4 separate regions of the Homo sapiens genome follow, and all the other regions are linked to region 2. Evidence: promoter capture Hi-C in human tissues and cell types (Jung and others, 2019). All regions are on one chromosome and are shown on one strand. The core of a region is centred on a gene start or on the middle of the fragment in contact, and the rest is flanking DNA. Distances in the headings are between cores, read along the strand shown. Region 1 overlaps ADK (adenosine kinase). Region 2 holds the start of COMTD1 (catechol-O-methyltransferase domain containing 1). Region 3 overlaps ADK (adenosine kinase). Region 4 overlaps ADK (adenosine kinase).

What was found. The method cuts DNA at HindIII sites, captures the fragments that hold promoters and counts their contacts. A contact is called where the count stands out against the background at its distance.
Region 1: a fragment that was not itself captured here is called in contact with the fragment with the promoter of COMTD1 in region 2 in 1 of the 25 tissues and cell types used here (dorsolateral prefrontal cortex).
Region 3: a contact is called between a fragment that was not itself captured here and the fragment with the promoter of COMTD1 in region 2, in 2 of the 25 tissues and cell types used here (adrenal gland and spleen).
Region 4: a fragment that was not itself captured here is called in contact with the fragment with the promoter of COMTD1 in region 2 in 1 of the 25 tissues and cell types used here (dorsolateral prefrontal cortex).

Annotation. Positions count from the first base shown.
Region 1 is chr10:74,206,060-74,208,759 of GRCh38, forward strand. The region is part of intron 2 of ADK (adenosine kinase); the gene reads left to right. Among named protein-coding and RNA genes, the nearest start is that of ADK, 56 kb to the left of the region's middle. RefSeq lists enhancers at 419-951, 952-1,482. The HindIII fragment of the contact is 5,622 bases long and covers 1-2,700 here.
Region 2 is chr10:75,234,617-75,237,316 of GRCh38, forward strand. It overlaps COMTD1 (catechol-O-methyltransferase domain containing 1), which reads right to left and starts at 1,341. Exons shown (of 7, transcript NM_144589.4): 1 at 1,219-1,341; 2 at 1,000-1,127; 3 at 651-756; 4 at 444-562; 5 at 322-376; 6 at 1-127. The coding sequence starts at 1,312. RefSeq lists silencers at 70-299, 460-749, 880-959, 1,120-1,259, 1,295-1,589. The HindIII fragment of the contact is 14,083 bases long and covers 1-2,700 here.
Region 3 is chr10:74,222,455-74,225,302 of GRCh38, forward strand. ADK (adenosine kinase) reads left to right here. Exons shown (of 11, transcript NM_006721.4): 3 at 2,084-2,137. Among named protein-coding and RNA genes, the nearest start is that of ADK, 73 kb to the left of the region's middle. The HindIII fragment of the contact is 3,256 bases long and covers 1-2,848 here.
Region 4 is chr10:74,169,109-74,171,808 of GRCh38, forward strand. The region is part of intron 1 of ADK (adenosine kinase); the gene reads left to right. Among named protein-coding and RNA genes, the nearest start is that of ADK, 19 kb to the left of the region's middle. The HindIII fragment of the contact is 7,141 bases long and covers 1-2,700 here.

The DNA of each region.
Region 1 (2,700 bases), core at 6-2,505, 1.0 Mb before region 2:
GTAGTGTGAGATATTTTGTTCAGGAAGTCAACTAATTCATGGTCACTATTTTAAAAAAATCATGATGTATAAAAGTAAAGAGCAACTTAAAAATTTGAAATTTTATCGTGTATTTCAAAAGTAAAATAAAGTATAGAGACAAACCCATAAATGTAGAACATTTTATATGGGAAGCAAGAATTGAAATTTGGGATATACACACAGACCAGGTGGTCTTTGCTATGTCTGAAGAAGAAAGATAAGATTGGAAGTTTTATAAAAAGGTGAAATGTTTTGTATTGTTTTGAAAGAAAGCTCATTGGCACTAGTTTTGGGGAGGTGGCAAGCTTTGATTGGTGAGTGACTGCAGTGAGTAGAACTAGTCTTTTAGAGTCACAGCTCATTGTTTCAGTAGCTACTGGATAAAACTGTTTTCAGATGACAACAGGCAGTTTCAGCAGCCAGGCTTGCAGAGAATTACCTTCTTGGAGCAATGTTATGTGTGCTGAGTGCTCTTCCCCCCAGCCTGTCACCTGTTTTAGTCAGATATGACAAGAATGACCCAATTTATATGATTAGCTTTCACACATATATAATCAGTGTTGTTATTTTGGTGAACATGCCTCCAGATGTTTGTTAGGCATATATAACCTGAAGATGAATGTTTATGGGCTAATACTATGTGTAGTCTTTGTTAGTATGCTGTTTTTCACTCAACATTATGTTTTTGGATCACTGTTTTTAAAATTTCAGGCAAATGTGATCAGAGTGATTATGACTTGGCAGCTGTGTGATGATGTCACAGGATCCTTAGGGTGTCGCTTTTCCAGCCAGAAGCCACTGTGGTTGGTGGAGCCTTTGCCTGAGGTTTGCTTGTGCCTGCCAGGCTTGTTCTGCTTGTTTGGCCTGGCAGGCTGCGTTCGGCTCATGCTACCAGCCTGGATCCCACACCTGCCAAGGGCGAGCCAGGTGCAGAGTGGCGTGGCAAAGAGTGTGTGAGCAAGCGAATATGGGATCTGGCCACTGTGTACAGCCACTCATGCTGGCTGCTGTGGTGGGGTGGGCATCTCCAGGCACTGGCACAGGTGCTGGCTTCATGCAAGCTTGCGGCTGGATCTGATGCATCTCAAGTGGCTTCCACTGTAGGAACCCACGTCTGGACGAGGATAATATGGTGGTGCCCAGAAGCTTGGAGACACCAGAAACCACAGAGCCCCAAAGAGAGTGTCACAGCCCTGGATTGGGAACCCCCTAGGTCTGGGCTCTCAGAAGGGCTGCAGCTCTTCTTTCCTTCTTGTTGCCTGCAAGGTGCTGAGTGGGGTGAGGCATATTTTAGCTCTGTTTGTGTTACAGCTGTTTCAGTCCTGCCACTTGGTGGGTCTTCTTATCCTGCATCCATGAACAGTGAGGTATGGGGACAACTGGAGGGTGAGCAAGGTGGAGAGGAGCTTCATTGAGCAACAGAACAGCTCTCAGGAGACCCGAAGTGGGTAGCTCCTTTCTGCAGGCAGGTCGTCCTGACAAGTGTTCACCTCTCAGTGAGATGAGACCCCGAGGGGGTAACTCCTTTCCACAGTTGGTAGTCCCAGGTCTCTTCTGTAAGTCTGGCTGAGTCCAGGGTTTTTAATGGGCTTCACAAGGGAGAAGTGTGTGCTGATTGGTCCATGGGCGGCTATGGGTGGGTCTGGAAAAAGCACCATGAGTCTCACTCCCCTCAGTGGACCCCACCTGGAACTGATAGCCTGGCCCCCATGCTTCAGGCTGTCCCTGGCTTGAAGGCAGGGCTTCACCTGAACCCACCCCTTTTTTCCCAGGAGAGTGTCTGCCTCCTGCTGCCATCAATCATGTTGTCCACAGTGTGCAGGCTGTTGGTGATGAGGGTACTTGCTGGCCCCATTGAGCTGCCCTCAGTCCCACCTTGGCCTCCTTCCCATGCTTCTCTGCACCTAAAGTCCAGAGGGGGCTGAGGGGGCAGGGGGCTGGTATGTCAGTGCTGCCCCGAGCACATGCACACCTGCTGGGTTGTGACAGTGCCTGGGCTTGGCCACGACTTTGCTCCACCCTGGAGCAGGTGCTGGGATCGAGGAGAGGCCAGGCATGGGAACAGGCACTTCTGAGTCTGCAGGGGAAAGGGGGACTTCCCGGGCCCCAGAGAGTGCAGGGATACCTGGGTCCACAGCCATGGCTGGGTGGCTGCAGCTGCACTCAGGAGGGTGGGGCTCCAGCCCTGCCAACTTGGAAGTGGGTGTGGCTCCCACCTGTTCCCAGCTCCCATGGGCTCTGTGGAGCATGCAGCCCTGGCTGCATCTCCCCAATTGTAGCCAGTGTCTTTGCAGCAGCTGCTCTAGACAGCCTGCTGCTGCCATCAATGACGCTGCTGGGAGCTCGAGTAACTTCTTTGTTTTACATGTTTTACTAGCAGCTGGTCCTAAGTGGCTAGCTGAAGTTCTATTTTATATTTGGAAGGTTTTAATCTTTAACTTTGATTTTCAAATAAGTACTTGAAGATAAAAAACAAGTCTTTGGACCCTAACAATAAAAGAGTCTTCTCTATTGTTACTCCTGGCTATTTCTTCCAAATATATTTAAAAACTTACCTTATGATATAAACGAATCGTGTTTAGCCTACATTTTGAGCCACCATTAGATAAGTATTTAGATAAGTACTATGTATATATATATTTTTTATTTTTTTATTTTTTTATTTTTTATTTTTGAGTT
Region 2 (2,700 bases), core at 91-2,590:
ACGGCGAGGATGCCTCCGGGTCGCAGCAGCTGCAGGCAGCGCTCGTAGTAGGCGGAGCAGTTCTCCTTGTCCGCATCCACCACGGCCACGTCGAAGGTGCCGGCCTCGCCCGCCGCCAGCAGCTCGTCTTGCGGGGGGAGGGAGGGCAGGTGCGGCTGAGTCCGCGGCCCCGGCGGCCCTGAGGCCCCTCCCAGGCCGGCCCGGGCTCTGTGACAACCGGCCCTGCCCTTAACCTGCCCGGCAGGCCCAGTCACAGCTCGGCCACACAGCAGCCTCGTTTGCAATGAATGGCTTCAAAGCCCTTCCCGCTTCGGTGCTCACCCAGGGTCTCCAAGGCGGGCTTCAGCCGGAGGTCGATCTTGTGCTCCGCCTCGGCCTGCGGAGGGAGCGGGTCAGCCGTTGCGCCCCCGCCTGGGGCTGCAGAGCTAGGCGCGGGCGCTCACCTGCCTCCACAGGGGCCGTCCCAGCTCCGGGGGCTGCGCGTCCACCTCGCAGGTCACCACGCGCCCGTCCGCGGGCAGCGCCAGGGCCAGGGCCAGGGCGGAGTAGCCCGTGAAGGTGCCTGGGACCAGGACACAGACGGGCTCAGCCCAGAGTGGGGGTCGGCCCGGAAACCTCGGCCCTCCGGGATCCCGGCCGCGTGCCCCTACCCAGGTCCAGCGCCTTCTTGGCCTGGATGAGCCGCGCCAGGTTGGCCAAGAGCTGGGCCTGCTCGCAGGTCATCATAGAATCCCCCTGCGGCTGCTCCAGGGTCAGCTGCGTGAAAGGAGAGGGTGGCACCAGCCATGCAGGTCACCCACCTTCGCCCTGGGGGTCCCAAGCCCCAGGGGCGCGGTTCTGGGCGTGGCCTGGGGGACTGGCCCTTCGGAACGCCCACCGCACCCGGCCCAGGGAAGCCGGAAGCCCAGGGAGGGCCAGGGCCCAGCCCAAGGTCACACAGCCACGTGGGACCCGCAGGGGTCGAGAGGGACGCCCGTTTCCGTCCCGCGCCCTGCTGACCAGCCTCAGGCTTCGCAGCGCCGGGTGCTCCCGCATGGAGCGGCTCAGAAGATACTGCCACAGGCGGCTGTCCTCGGGGGGAAGCAGGCACTGCTCTCGCCGGCCTCGCCATGGGGGGCACCGCCTCCCTGACGGGGAGAGGGTGTTGGATTAACCTGAGCCACGCCGCGCCCTACTCTGCGCCCGCCCACCCGCCCGCCGGGACCAGGTCCTGCTCACCCAGGAAGAGGCCAGTGGCGAAGGCGGCGCCCAGTGCGGCTGAGCCCAGGGCCAGCGCGGCGGGCACGGAGAGCCGGGGCACCGGCTGGGTCATGGCGCGGGCAGGAGGCGGCGGGAGGCAGTGACAGGTCACGTGAGCTGGAGCTCCTGGGACAGGTCTCGGACTCGCGGGCCCGCCGGGCTCCACCTTGTCGGGGCACTACCCGCGGAGCCGCGGTCTCGGGCATCATCTGGCGGCCACACAGCCTTACTGCAAGCCCCGCCCGAGAGAGCCGGGCGCGATCTGGTGGCCGCGCCGGGAACTGCGCCCCTGCGGGGAGCAGGCCAAGCGCCTAGATCTGAATTTTCCCGCCTGTGCCCGCAGTCCAGGTGCCTGCCTCCATTCCCCTCCTGCCAATGCTTTTTTCTCCTCGCCACCATTTATTCTGAGGCCCCTTGGGGGCATATGTGAATTGTGTATGGAGGGCGCCAGTGTAAGTTACAAGATAGTCACAAGTACAAGAGATAGAGATTAAAGGGGGAAGGCCTCCTGGACAAGATGCCCCAAAGCATCAGGCTGAAGGAGTGAGGGAACTGGTTTGAGGGCATGCAGCCTCGAATTGGGGTTCAGGAGCCCTGGGGTGGGCCTGTGGAACTGAGACCATATTCTTAGCTGTTAAAATCCTGCTTTTGGGGGCCAGATGGATACGAGTGTCTAATCTTGGTCCTGCCAGTCTCTCTGAGCCTCAGTTTCCTTCCTGTAAAATGAGGCCTACAATCTTACCATAAAAGGCACCAGATCCCACAGCTTCGCACACAGTAGCACAATACATAAGTGGCAGCTGCTGTTATGTTGGTAGGTTGGAATGAAGACATCTTGGGGAGAAAGCCGGTGAAGCTCCCTTGCAAGGTTGTTCTGTTGAAACACTGTCCAGAGAACACTGATTGAACCCCTACCATGCGCCAAACTCCGGAGGAGGTGAAAGACGCTGACGCTGTCCTTTTTTTTTTTTTTTTTGAGACTGAGTCTCGCTCTGTCACCCAGGCTGGAGTGCAGTGGCACAATCTGGTCTCACTGCAACCTCCACCTCCTGATTCAAGCGATTCTCCTGCCTCAGACTCTGGAGTAGCTGGGACTACAGGCACGCACCCCTACACCCAACTAATTTTTGTATTTTTTGTAGAGACGGGTTTTGCTATTTTGGCCAGGCTGGTGTCAGACTCCTGGCCTCAAGTGATCTGTTTGCCTCGTCCTTCCAAAGTGCTGGGATTACAGGCCTGAGCCATTGTGCCTGGCGTTGGTGTTCTTTTTTTTTTTTTTGGCAAGGTCTCTGGCAAGGCTGAAGTGCAGTGGCAAGATTACTGCTTATTGCAGCATCGAGCTCCCAGGCTCAGCAATCCTCTTGCCTCAGCCTCCCAAGTAGCTGGGACCACAGGCGGTCACCACTGTGCCCAGCTAATTTAAAAAAAAAAATTTTTTTTTTAAAGAGAAGGGGTCTTACT
Region 3 (2,848 bases), core at 315-2,814, 1.0 Mb before region 2:
ATTCCTCAGGGATCTAGAACTAGAAATACCATTTGACCCAGCCATCCCATTACTGGGTGTATACCCAAAGGACTATAAATCATGCTGCTATAAAGACACATGCACACGTTTGTTTATTGCGGCGCTATTAACAATAGCAAAGACTTGGAACCAACCCAAATGTCCAACAATGATAGACTGGATTAAGAAAATGTGGCACATATACACTATGGAATACTATGCAGCCATAAAAAATGATGAGTTTATGTCCTTTTTAGGGACATGGATGAAATTGGAAATCATCATTCTCAGTAAACTATCACAAGAACAAAAAACCAAACACCGCATATTCTCACTCATAGGTGGGAATTGAACAATGAGAACACATGGACACAGGAAGGGGAACATCACACTCTGGGGACTGTTGTGGGGTGGGGGGAGGGGGGAGCGATAGCATTGGGAGATATACCTAATGCTAGATGACGAGTTAGTGGGTGCAGCACACCAGCATGTCACATGCATACATATGCAACTAACCTGCACAATGTGCACATGTACCCTAAAACTTAAAGTATAATAATAAAAAAATAAAAATAAATAAAAAGTGAATTTTAGGCCATTTTCTGTTACTTAGAATACCTGAAACTGGGTATTTTATAAGAAAAGGAATTTATTTCTTACAGTTATGGAGGTTGAGAAGTCCAAGGTCAAAGGGCTGCACTTGGTGAGAACCTTCTTGCTGATAGTGACTCTACAGATTCCTGAGGTGGTGCAGGGTATCACATGGCAAGGGGCCTGAACCTGCTAATGGTAGCTCAGGTCTCTTCTCTTCTTTTAAAGCCACCAGCTCCCCTCCCATGATAACCCATTAATCCATGAATGGATTAATCCATTTATGAAGGTGGAGCTCTCATGATCCAATTACTTCTTAAAGGCCCCAGCTCTCAATATTGCCCCGTTGGGGATTAAATTTCAACATGAGATTTGAGGGGGGTCAAATATTCAAACCATAGCAGTGGGTTTAAAGGTACTTGTGAAAGAGGAGACCAGAGAGGAAAATCAACATGACCTTTCAAATGGACCTATGATCCATTTTCAGGCAGATTAATTTTAAATTTTATGAAAGGGTTGAGTATGAATGAGAATTGAAGACCTGGGAATTGTTGTCCATTGTTGTTTATCTATTTCTGTGTACCCTTCAGAAAGTCTGTTTACCTTCAGCAGTACAAATATATGGTACTGTGAAAGATCCCTGATCTAGTATTTATAGCAACCTGTATTTTATGACCAGAGAAACTGAGACTTAAAGATGTAGAGTACTTGCCTATGGTCACTTAGCTAGTAAATGGTCAATCAAAAACTCCAAAACTTGAGGCCGGGTACGGTGACTCATGCCAGTAATCCCAGCAATTTGGGAGGCTGAGGTGGTTGGATCACTTGTGGTCAGGAGTTCCAGAGCAGCCTGGCCAACATGTTAAAACCCCTTCTCTACTAAAAATACAAAAATTAGCCAGGCATGGTGGTGCGTGCCTGTAATCCCAGCTTCTGGGGAGGCTGAGACAGGAGAATCGCTTGAACAGGTTGCACTGAGTCAAGATCGTGCCACTGCACTCCAGCCTTGGTGACAGAGTGAGACTCTATCTCAACAAATAAACAAACAAACAAAAAACACACAAACCCTCCAAAGCTTTTCTTTCCCTCCTGTGTCATGCTACTTAGTACATAGCCTGGTTCACAGTATATGATTACTATATATTTAATGAATGATTTACATATTATTTGTGAAGTCCAAAATACTTAACGTTGTAGTTGTTCCATCAGTTTTGAACTGCTGAATAAGTGTGACATTACAGATGATTCACTACAGAAGAATATTGAAGATCTTCAAAGCATTGTTAAGGTGATCTCCTTTCAGTTCCTGGAGTGGTGTTCCTGGAAATGACTAATAGAACAGCAAAAAACCGTCTACTTGGGCATTCTTGGTGTTTTATCAATTAAGTCAGAGACCTATAACAGTGTTGGAGTGCTTGTTTTGAAGAGGTCAGCTAACTTACGTTGACACTGTGTGTGTATGAAGAGTGTAATTTTCGTTTCTGTTATACAGGTATTCTCTGAAACCAAATGACCAAATCTTGGCTGAAGACAAACACAAGGAACTGTAAGTGCATTAAACCATTGGTTGTAAATAGTTTACTCTGTCTATGAACTTGATATATGTATATGTAAATTATCTGATTTTCAAAATTATATAATGACAAAGTATAATTAACACTATGACCTTAATCCTAACAATTATGATAACCTACACTATATAATTTACACTACATAAAGTTTACACAGGACATAATTTCTCCTGTATTCACATTAAAAGATGTAGTGTTGTATTCCATCATCTAGACTAAAGTCTTACTGGGAAATATGTCATGCTATTTTCTCTTTCCAGATAAAATATTAAATTGTTCCTATTTTCTTTCTGACTGCTCTACCAGAAAAAAGTAAAAAATAAAAATAAATTGTCACTCTTAATTTTTGGGTCTTACTCCGGTGGATCACCCACCTTCATGGTAATGATAGACAAATATAATTTTGTTTCTGTCACTGGTTTATGCAAAAGTAAATGTCAATTGTTTGGTACAAGGTAAAACACTTTATTTTATTTTTATTTTTTTGAAACAGAGTCTTGTTCTGCTGCCCAGGCTGGAGGCGCAATCTCGGCTCATTGCAACCTCTCATTCCTGGGTTCAAGCAATTCCCCTGCCTTAGCCTCCCAGGTAGCTGGGATTACAGGTGCCCGCCACCATGCCTGGCTAAATTTTGTATTTTAAGTAGAGATGGGGTTTTGCCATGTTGGCCAGGCTGGTCTCAGACT
Region 4 (2,700 bases), core at 1-2,500, 1.1 Mb before region 2:
CTCAGGAAGCTGGGGTGGGAGGATTGCTCGAGCCTGGGAGGCGGAAGTTGCAGTGAACCAAGATTGTGCCAGTACACTTCAGCCTGCGTGACAGTGGGACCCTGTCTTAAAAAAAAAGGAAAAAGAAAATATATTTCATAAGGTTAGCAACAAGCTTTTGAGAAGGGCTATTCTTTATTTCTGTGATGTACTTTCTATATTTTTGTATTAAAATCCCTTTTCTGTTGTGAAATGATAGTGATATTCACTTCTATAGTTTAAAAATATGTTCTGTGCAGCATAAATAATTGATAAGCAGTGTTATCTTGTACTTTCAGATTGGAGTTGCCTTTGAGAGTCAAAGATTTGTAGCTCACAGAAAATAAAGAAGTACTGTGTGGGTGTGCCTGGGAGGGAGTTTTGCTAAGAATTCTTACTAAATAAAGTTCAATCAGTCAAATGTTATTGTACTCTTCAAATTCTCCAGGGAAATAAATTGCCAGCTTCCATTTAAAGATTGTATTTTGTTTGAATATGTGATGTTAAAGTGAAATGTGACATATAAGAATCTAAAGATGATTATTAAAAGCAAACAACATAATAGCATTCTTACAATGTCTTTTGCAGGAGAGAATTAATAGATTTAGCAGTGTTTCTTTGAATAAACTTGTCCATAATGAAAGCTAACTAAAATTGCATTAAAATTTATCAACTCCTTTAAAAAAATTCAATATGTTTTGAGATACAAGTATGCACAAGTATTTTCTTTCATTGTCTAATAAGAACTTAAAGGAACCTGAGATGTCACCTATAACAAACTCCTTTGTGTTTCAGAAAAGGAAACTGATGGTCAAAGAGGTAATGATTTGTCAAAAGTAATAAAGTTATTGGTAAGTCCAGGATTCGAATCCCTTCTCATTCCCAGGCCCCTGACCTTTACATGGCTGCACACTATTTTAGGGAGACAAGTTTTAAGAAGTTTCTCTTTTTGGATATGATATAGATTCTTTAAATAATATTATTTTACTGATTTTTGAATTCATATTAAATGAGGGTTTGTATTTTTAAGTAACATGCAGGGAAAACATTCCACATTCATGTTATGACAGCTGGGCTCGTCAAGGCTTTGCAAAGCTCTAAAAGTAGGATACACACTTTTAACTTTTGTCAAGTTGTGATTTAAAATTAATCAAAAAAATCATGAGGACACCTTATTTTTGTTATTCCTGTCTTAAAGAATCTTTATACATGAAAAAATGAAACATTTATAAAATTAGCCCAATTTGTCTAAAAATAAGGGTAGTTTTGACGGTTGTGAATTTCTTTTTTTAAAAAAACTCAGGAACAAGGTTATGATTTTAAAAATGCAAGTTTTCAAAAAGGGCAGGAGTAAGTTTTGTATTTTTAAGCCATTTAAAAAAGATAGTAAGGCCGGGCACGGTGGCTCACGCCTGTAATCCTAGCACTTTGGGAGGCCGAGGCAGGCGGATCACGAGGTCAGGAGATCGAGACCATCCTGGCTAACACGGTGAAACCCTGTCTCTACTAAAAATACAAAAAAAATTTGCCGGGCGTGGTGGCGGGCACCTGTAGTCCCAGCTACTCGGGAGGCTGAGGCAGGAGAATGGCGTGAATCTGGGAGGCTGAGCCTGCAGTGAGCCGAGATCGCGCCACTGCACTCCAGCCTGGGCGACAGAGCAAGACTCCATCTCAAAAAAAAAAAAAAAAGAAAAAAGATAGTTGATATTTAATAATAATTATAAAAATTATAACTATAAAACCAGTATTAGAAAATTAATGATGGATGAATGTAAATAAAGTAAAATTATGCATAATCCTACTTTCCAGAGATAACTAATAACATTTAGGTGTATTTCTTTCCAATCATTTTTTTCTATGCATATATGGTGTGTATTTTTTTAAACACAGTCAAGTTCATACTCTACTTCCTTTTGTTTTGCTTTTTTCATTTAACATTATATCATGAGCATTTTCTTATGTCCCTAAAAAGTCTGTGGAAACATTTTATAATAGTTCCATAACATTCTGTAATTATTTAACTATTACCCTATTTCTGGTTATTTGGGATATAATAAATTTTTGCTATTGTTAATAAGGCTGAAATGAATAACTGGGTATACAAATCTTTATACACATTTGTCTCTCTTTTAATGATAGTTGCCTAAAAGTTGGAATTACTGACACATATTGCCAAAATTCTTTATAGTAGAAATGTACTAATTTATACTCCCATTAATTTTATATGAGAGTGCTTGTTTTATCGCACCCTTAACAAACTGGTTGTGTTTGAAGAGAACTTTGCTATTATTTTGGGGCTTGAAGCATTTGTTGAAGAGATTAGTGGATGGGTCCACATTTTTGGTATGCTATTTGGAGGCACTTAGCTATTTTGGGTTATGTATCTGATTGCTTTTATAGGGCCAGACCACAAGATTAGATAAAGTATATGGAATATTTACATATCAGTCTTACGAAGAGCAAACTATTCAGACCCACTTATCTTGATTCAGCTATTCTAATTGTAAAAAGACTACTGAAGGTTAAAAATTTCAGTTGACTATTTTCTCCTAAAGTAGGATAAGCTAGGCTTTTAGGAAAAAAATAGGGTTGAAATAAATTGTTTAGAAAATTGATCAAAAGTAGTAGTTACTCAGTACTCTCTCTCTCAGCGCTCACTCTCTTTCTGTCTCTCTCTGTCTC